Linked DNA regions of Homo sapiens: region 2 is linked to region 1. Evidence: promoter capture Hi-C in human tissues and cell types (Jung and others, 2019). All regions are on one chromosome and are shown on one strand. Each heading gives the region's core, a stretch centred on a gene start or on the middle of the fragment in contact. The rest is flanking DNA. Distances are from core to core; before and after follow the strand shown.

Region 1 (4,358 bases), core at 853-3,352:
GCTCAAGTGATCCTCCCACCTCAGCCTTCCAAGTAGTTGGGATCATGACTCATACCACTACACCTAGCTAATTTTTTTTTTGTGGAGATGGGTTTTTGTCATGTTGCCCAGGCTGGTCTCAAACTCATGGGCTACTTCCACCTTGGCCTCTCAAAGTGGTGGGATTACAGGCATGAGCCACAGTGCCTGACCTGGTTTTGTTTTGTTTTTTCAGTGATATGGGAAGTTATTCAGCTAGGTGTGAGTGAGGAACTAGAACATTTCTCCTGGACCTCCAGGCATGAATTTGGGAACTTCTTTCTCAGTCTCAGTCTATTTTCCTAAAATGTTTAAGGTCTTTATTCTTTTCTATGCAGCCCGACCATTAGATGTGACCTCCGTGGTTGTAAGGGATGGTTGTTTGGACACAAAATACCTAATATCCTGGGTGTCAAAATTCCCTAGTGAAGTCAGGCCCTGGACTTCTCTTTTTTGTCAGTCTCATAAATCAGGCAGACATGAGCTTTTATTTGTGGATGCACCAAATAAATACCCTAGTGGACAGCTTTGCTCAGCCTGGCCACTGAAAGAGCCACCTAAATAAAATCTCAGGTCCAGGCCGGGTGCGGTGGCTCACGCCTTTAATCCCAGCACTTTGGGAGGCCGAGGCGGGCAGATCATGAGGTCAGGAGATCGAGACCATCCTGGCTAACACAGTGAAACCCCGTCTCTACTAAAAATACAAAAAAATTAGCCGGGCATGGTGGCAGGCGCCTGTAGTCCCAGCTACTCAGTAGGCTGAGGCAGGAGAATGGCGTGAACCCGGGAGGCGGAGCTTGCAGTGAGCGGAGATTGCGCCACTGCACTCCAGAGCCTGGGCGACAGAGCGAGACTCCATCTCAAAAAAATAAAAAAAAATCTCACGTCCAGAAAAATTGGCCTTCCAGGGCCCCAGAACCCTTTTTACCAGTCTAGTAATAGCCTTTCATCAGCCTAATTTCCTATTCTTTTTAGTCTGAATGTATGGTGTAATGTGCATAAAATACACAAGTCCAAATTTTAGCATTCCGTGGACGCAAAATGTGCCAAAGGTGGATACTTTGCTTCTGTCATACATCGGTAGTCAACTTCCCTATACATCAAACTTTCAGCAAATTCAAACATTTTCCTTGAAAGCTGTGTTACTTTGGCCAAATTACTTAACCTCTCTGAGCTTCAGTGTGTCTACTTCCTCATGTCATGATTAAGAGTTAATATCTACTGGCTTAAAAAAGAAAAAAAAGGAAAAAAATTAAATGAGATGATGGGTGTGAAGCAGGGATTGGCTGAATGTAAGCATTCAATAAATATTCAGTTTTAAAATTGTAATCTCAGCCTTCCCGCCCTGCAGAGGCTACACCCTGGCAGGACTTAATCTCCTAAATCTCTGCCGCTTACCCTAGTCTTTTGCACCAATTTAATCATTCCTTCACGCAGGGTCTACTGAGCGCCATCCCTTGTGCTGGACTCTGGCTACTTAAATAGGAATCAAGCCAGGTCCCTACCATTGCTCAGCCCGCAGCCGAGTGGGAAAGAAGCTCGCAAAAGCAGCAAACAGGCAGTAATCGAGGTATGTATCTGCTTTTGTTAAGGGCAAGTGGGGGAGCGAAGGTCTGTGTCTGAAACTTGGGTGTGAGGGGTTAGTTGGAGTAATCCAGGCAATTGGCACTGCCCGTTTAAGAGCACGGGCCCAAGAGGGGAAGGGGACTCCAGGTGAAGCCCTAAGGCCCGGGAAGATCTGCGGGAGGCGGCAGGGCCCAGGGCGTTGAATGCCCGGCCACAAGATCAGCCTCCTCCCATTGGCGAAAGGAGCCCCGAAGAGCTTGTGTTCAGGAGGGAGGCCTCGGCCTGGTCAAGTCATCTAGCAGGAAGAGTCCCGGACAGTGCAAAGCAAATGCAAGAAGACCCCCTCCCTAGCCGATGGGAAATGCCCCAGCCGTTGAAGGCGGAAATAACGGCCTGTAGGCAACGGAACTCCCAGCGTTCGCAAAGGAGGGAGGAGCCGGAAACTCAGGGCGCGAGGCCTGTGGGCCCAGCGGTGAGGCAGCAGCTGGGGGCGGGGGGAGGGCGGACCTAGCTTCCCAGGGCAGGTGATTCGTCGGCCCCGGTGGCGGCGGCGCGTGCGACGGTCACCTCGGTTTGGGTGAGTCCCTGGGTTCGAGCCCGGGCCCCGCCAGCTGCCGAGTTGCCTCTCGGTGCCGGACTGTGACTCCCTCTGGCCGGCCCTGCACTCTGGCCTCCTGGGACGTCATCTGGAGGGATAGAGCCAGGCCTGGGACTCCTTTTGGGAGAGTTTCCGTTCTTCTATTCCGTGCTGTCCGGCCAGGACCCCTCAGGGACTTCTGTGGGGCAGGGGCGAATCATGCATGGCCTAGATGACCCCATGCCTAGAAAAAGGCAGTGCGGGGCGGTGGCGGCGCGCACGGCCGAGTGAAGCAGATAGCGTCCCCGGGGCTGGAGCCCGGTAGCAGGGGTAGGGAAACGCGGAGGCTGCCAGGATGCGGACCCAGGGGACGCGAGGCGGGGGCGCCGGATGGGGAGACGCGAAGGAGGGGGAAGGGGATGGGGGAGGGGGCTAGACAGGGAGGGAGGGTGGAGCGTGGGCGGGGCCTGGGGCGGGTCGGACTTTAGGGAGTTGGAGCGGGGGTTACTGGTGCTAAGACCACCTGGGGCTAAGGTCCGAACACTTGGAGGCAGCACCATCCAAGGAATGGGTTGAAACAGCAGGAGCCCGGCGGGGCGCAGTGGCTCACGCCTGTAATCCCAGCACTTTGGGAGGCCGAGGTGGGCGGATCACCTGAGGTCAGGAGTTTGAGACCAGCCTGACCAACATGGTGAAACCCCATCTGTACTAAAAATACAAAAAAAATTAGCCGGGCGTTGTGGCGCGTGCCTGTAATCCCAGCTACTCGGGAGGCTGAGGCAGGAGAATCGCTTGAATCCGGGAGATGGAGGTTGCAGTGAGCCGAGATCATGCCACTGCACTCCAGCCTGGGCAACAAGAGCGAAACTCTGTCTCAAAAAAAAAACAACAACAACAAAGAAAAAACAAAACGAAACAGCAGGAACCCGCCAAGAACAGCCTTGAAGGAAGGTAAAGGAACCGCCCCAGTATCCAGGACATCAGTTTTTCTTTTTTTTTTCTTTTTGAGACGAAGTCCAGGCTGGAGTGCAGTGGCACGATCTCGACTCACTGCAAGCTCCGCCTTACGGGTTCAAGCCATTCTCCTGCCTCAGCCTCCCGAGCATCTGGGACTACAGGCGCCCGTCACCATGCCTGGCTAATTTTTTTGTATTTTTTTTTTTTTTTTTAGTAGAGACGGGGTTTCACTGTGTTAGCCAGGATGGTCTCGATCTCCTAACCTCAGGTGATCTGCCCGCTTCAACCTCCCAAAGTGCTGGGATTACAGGCGTGAGCCACCGCGCCAGGCCCAGGACATCAGTTTCAAAGGTTGTGTGGTTCTTGGCAGAGCGGGAGCCCACACCAAGATAGTGCATGATAGGCCTAATAAAGGTGCTTTGGATTTGGTCATTACTTTGGTGATGAACTGAAAACATAATGACTTTTTAAAAATTTTTATCGGCCGGGCGCGGTGGCTCACGCCTGTAATCCCAGCACTTTGGGAGGCCGAGGCGGGCGGATCACGAGGTCAGGAGATCGAGACCATCCCGGCTAAAACGGTGAAACCCCGTCTCTACTGAAAATACAAAAAATTAGCCGGGCGTAGTGGCGGGCGCCTGTAGTCCCAGCTACTTGGGAGGCTGAGGCAGGAGAATGGCGTGAACCCGGGAGGCGGAGCTTGCAGTGAGCCGAGATCCCGCCACTGCACTCCAGCCTGGGCGACAGAGCGAGACTCCGTCTCAAAAAAAAAAAAAAAAAAAATTTTATCATGAAAGCTTTCAAACTTACACAAAAGTACAGAAAAGTAGAGACAATAGCATACATACCATTATGGATGATTTGAATAACATACCATATGGATCCCAAGCACTCATCATGAGGCCTCAGTCACTCAGGAATGGCAACCCTTGGTTGCATTGCAAAGATATTAAGGCACACCTCAAGCCGGGTGCAGTGGCTCATGCTTGTAATTCCAGCACTTTGGGAGGCTGAGGCAGGCAGATCACTTCAGGTCAGGAGTTTCAGACCAGCCACGCCAACATAATGAAACCTCTTCTCTACTAAAAATACAAAAATTAGCCGAGCATGGTGGTGCATGTCTATAATCCCAGCTACTCAGGAGGCTGAGGCAGGAGAGTTACTTGAACCCAGGAGGTGGAGGCTGCAGTGAGCCGAGATCACACCACTGTAGTCCAGCCTGGGAGACAAAGTGAGACCC
Region 2 (4,358 bases), core at 1,281-3,780, 570 kb after region 1:
GTAACTCCCTGCCATCATTTTTAAGAACTTCCAGATAAAGAACAGAAAGAGGCCAGGCTCACACCTGTAATCCCAGCACTTTGGGAGGCTGAGGCAGGTGGATCACTTAAGGCCAGGAGTTCAAGACTAGCCTGGCCAACATGGTGAAACCCCGTATCTACCAAAAATACAAAAATTAGCCGGGCCATGGTGGCGGGTGCCTGTAGTCCCAGTTACTCGGGAGTCTAAGATGGGAGGATCACTTGAGCCCCAGAAAGTCAAGTCTGCAGTGAGCTGTGATTGTGCCACTACACTCCAGCCTGGATGACAGAGTGAGGCCCTGTCTTAAAAAACAAACAAAAAGAGCAGAAAAATCTTTTTATATTTTTATTTATTATTATTAAATTTTTTAGAGACAGAGTCTCACTCCTCACCCAGGCCGGAGTGCACTGGCATGACCATAGCTCACTGCAGCCTTGGACTCCTGGGCTCAAGCAATCCTCCCACCTCAGCCTCCTAAGTAGCTGGGAATACAGGCGTGTGCCACCATGTCCAGTTAGTTGTGTTTCTTTTGGTAGAGATGGAGTCTCACTGTGTTGCCTAGGCCTGTCTCAAACTTCTGGTCTTAAACTAATCCCTCTGCCTTGGCCTCCCAAAGTGTTGGGATTACAGGTGTGAGCCACTGTGCCTGACCACAAGGAACTCTTTTTAAAATGTATTTATTGATTTTGTGGTAGATAGTATATTCATCTGGCCCAACAATTAAAAATGAAGTCACCTCCTATCTTTTTTTTTTTTTTTTTTGAGACGGAGTCCTGGCCTGCCTCCTATCTTTGTTTCTCAACCACTCAGTTAGTTCCCCTGCCAAGAGAAAAACAATAGACAATGTTTTTCTCTGTTTATCTTTTTAAAGGCATTTGATGCACACACAAGCCAATAAGAATATATCCTCCTTTTCTTTCCCCACCCCCATTTTTTCTGCACAAGCATGCATGTGACATTCTTCTGCACCTTGCTTTTTCTGTTTAACAATGTACCTCAGAAGTCTTCCCAAATCAGCTTCCTCAACACTTTGTTTTATGGTTGTGTAGAGTTCCAGTGTATGAAGGAACACACTAATTTATTTATCCAATCTCCTGGCTGTTAGATAGTGAGGGTGTTTCCAGTCTTTTAGCACCATATGCGAGGCTGCAATAAATCTCCTGTTCAGACATAATGTCATACAACTGAGTGTATCTGTGGGACAAATCCCTAGAAGCAGAATTGCTAGGTCAAAGGGTAAGGTGCATATGTAATTTTTTTTTTTTTTTTTTGAGACAGAGTCTTTCTCTGTCACCTAGGTTGAAGTGCAGTGGTGCAATCTTGGCTCACTGCAACCTCCACCTCCCAGGTTGAAGCGATTCTCCTGCCTCAGCCTCCTGAGTAGCTGGGATTACAGGCATGCACCATCACACCTGACTTTGTATTTTTAGTAGAGACGGGGTTTCGCCATGTTGCCAGGCTGGTCTCAAACTCCTGAGCTCAGCCAATCTGCCCGCCTTGGCCTCCCAAAATGCTGGGATTACAGGCGTGAGCCACTGTGCCTGGCCTGGTCTTTCAGTACCATATACAAGCCTGCAATAAATCTGTTTAGACATAATGTCATAGAAGTGAGTGTATCTGTGGGACAAATCCCTAGAAGTAGAATTGCTGGGTCAAAGGGTAAGGTGCATACGTAGTTTTGATAGATACTCCGAGATTGTTCTCCAGTGAAGTTGCCATCAATTTACGCTCCTACCAGCAATGCATGAGGGCACCAATTCCCCACACCCCCACCAGTCTAACAGGCAAAAGTTTTAGGTCTAGCTTGATTTGCACCACTCTCCTCATGAATGTGGCTGAGTAGCTGTTTAAGGGCCCTTTGTGTGACTGGGTTTTTGGTTTTGTTTTTTTTTTTGTTTTTAATGTGAATTCTTCGTATCTTCTGCTCACTTTTTAATACATGTTCTTGGTCTTTTTTTCCTTTTTCTTTTTCTTTCTTTTTTTTTTTTTTTTTTTTTATTGAGATGGAATCTTGCTCAGTCACCCAGGCTGGAGTTCAGTGGCATGATCTCAGCTTACTGCAACCCCCGCCTCGCAGGTTCAAGCAATTCTCCTGCCTGAGCCACCCAAGTAGCTGGGACTACAGGCATGCACCACCATGTCTGGCTAATTTTTTGTATTTTAGTAGAGACAGGGTTTCACCAGGTAGGCCAGGTGGGTCTCAACTCCTTGAGCTCAGGCAATCTACCCACCTCGGCCTCCCAAAGGGCTAGGATTACAGGTGTGAGCTATTGTGCCCGGCCCTTGGTCTTTTTATCATCAATGCATAGGAGTTCTTCATATATTAGGAGAATCAGCCCTTTGTTTATGAGCTGCAGATAATTTCCCCAGCATGTTGTCCTTTGACCTTGACTTTGGGTTGTTGCTCAGTGAACCTATTTTTCTATAGTCAAATTTATCAATCTTTGCTTTTGTGGTTGCTAAATTTTGTCTCTTGCACAGAAAGGAGCAGGAACCAATAGCCCCAACACACACACCACTTTTTTGATCAGTACAAGCTTGGAGTGACTTACTGGGTTCTGTAAGGAACAGGACAACTCCTGCTCTCCAAGAGAACCCAATGTTAGGAGGACACAAAGTAAACTAACAATTACAATTCTGTTGTAATAAATAGTGGTGGCCGGGCACGGTGGCTCACTCCTGTAATTCCAGCACTTTGGGAGGCCGAGGCAGGAAGATCATGAGGTCAGGAGTTCGAGACCAGCCTGGCCAACATGGTGAAACCCCGTCTCTATTAAAAATACAAAAAAAAAAAAAAAAAAAATCAGGCCAGGTGCGATGGCTCACGCCTGTAATCCCAGCACTTTGGGAGGCTGAGGCAGGTGAATCACGAGGTCAGGAGATTGAGACCATCCTGGCTAACACAGTGAAACTCCGTCTCTATTAAAAATACAAAAAAAAAATTAGCCGGGCGTGGTGGCGGGCGCCTGTAGTCCCAGCTACTCAGGAGGCTGAGGCAGGAGAATGGCGTGAACCAGGGAGGCGGAGCTTGCAGTGAGCCAAGATCATGCCACTGCACTCCAGCCTGGGCGACAGAGCAAGACACCGTCTAAAAATTTTAAAAAAGAAAAAGAAAAAAAAAGCTGGGCATGGTGGTGCACACCTGTAATCCCAGCCTCTCAGGAGGCTGAAGCAGGAGAATTGCTTGAACCTGGGAGGCAGAGTTTACAGTGAGCTGAGACCGCACCACTGCACTCCAGTCTGGGCGAAAGAATGAGACTCCATCTCAAAAAATAAAAATAAAAATAAAAAATAATAGTGGGAAGCACCATGGCAACCTGGGCAAGGAGGTTGCAGTTGGCCAGGGAAGGCTTTCCAAAGGAGGTAGCACCCAGGTACATCCACAGGCATGTGTGGGAGTCAGTCTTATCCCAGTAAAAGCAGCAGCATGTGCACAGGCAAGAGGCCTCACAAGTTCAAGGTTGTCCAGTCTGGCAAGAGAATACGGAGCCCTTCAGGGTTGGCATGTGGTAAAGGGCAGTGCTAGAAGGGTAGGCAGGAGCCAGATCACAAAGGGCCAGGTGTGTACTGCCCAGGAGTCTGGGCCTGACCTGAGGCAGTGGGGAGGCAGCAGCGGCACCTGACCAGCGGGGTGCAGGAAGGGCTGGAGGCGGCCCAGGGTGGAAGCTGGGCCTTGGTTTGGTGGCTTCTGCCTCCCACCCAGCAGCATCCACAGCAGCCTTGAAGGGCTCATGGCTGCCACAAAAGAGTGCACATTTCAGACCCAAATGTTCTATTCTCTGAAACTTCCAGAATTCTATAAAAAATCATCAGGGAGGCTAGAATCTTCTCTGAGAAACATTTCTCCCCAAGATGAAGGTAACTTCAAGTGCTTGGACCCCTCGTGGGGAAAGCAGTGATTGTCACTCCCCACTCAGCACCTCCTTGGCAGATGGGGCCAGCTAAATGCAGCACCTGCTCCTCTTAGCTCCAGTCTGGTGCAGGGAACAGCTGGGCTCTTTAGGCCCAGCCCAGACCCATTCATCCAGACCCCCCGCTTCAAAATGGGCGGCAGGGATGCAGGACTGCTGTGGGTAGGAGATGGAGAGACGAACCCCCAGGGACAGGGGCCTCCAGCTGGCCTGAGTCCACAGGGATATATGTTCCCTTCTAGCCAACAAGGCGCAGTCCTGCTGAGCAGCCACAGCTGTTTTCAGAGCTCTGGGACAGTGGCCTGTGAACTTCCCTGCTCCCATGGCCTTTTCACACAGGCACTTTGTGGTTGATCTCCCTGGGTGACTGCCTTCCCTAAAATCCCTGGCATAGATCCTCGCCCACGATGAACACTCAGAAAATGC

The links. The method cuts DNA at HindIII sites, captures the fragments that hold promoters and counts their contacts. A contact is called where the count stands out against the background at its distance.
Region 2: a contact is called between a fragment that was not itself captured here and the fragment with the promoter of SNUPN in region 1, in 1 of the 25 tissues and cell types used here (psoas muscle).

Annotation. Positions count from the first base shown.
Region 1 is chr15:75,623,469-75,627,826 of GRCh38, reverse strand. It overlaps SNUPN (snurportin 1), which reads left to right and starts at 2,102. Exons shown (of 9, transcript NM_005701.4): 1 at 2,102-2,161. RefSeq lists an enhancer at 1,734-1,923 and a silencer at 2,574-2,623. The HindIII fragment of the contact is 13,243 bases long and covers 1-4,358 here.
Region 2 is chr15:75,051,205-75,055,562 of GRCh38, reverse strand. No RefSeq gene overlaps it. Among named protein-coding and RNA genes, the nearest start is that of PPCDC, 30 kb to the right of the region's middle. RefSeq lists enhancers at 3,064-3,563, 3,564-4,065. The HindIII fragment of the contact is 8,061 bases long and covers 1-4,358 here.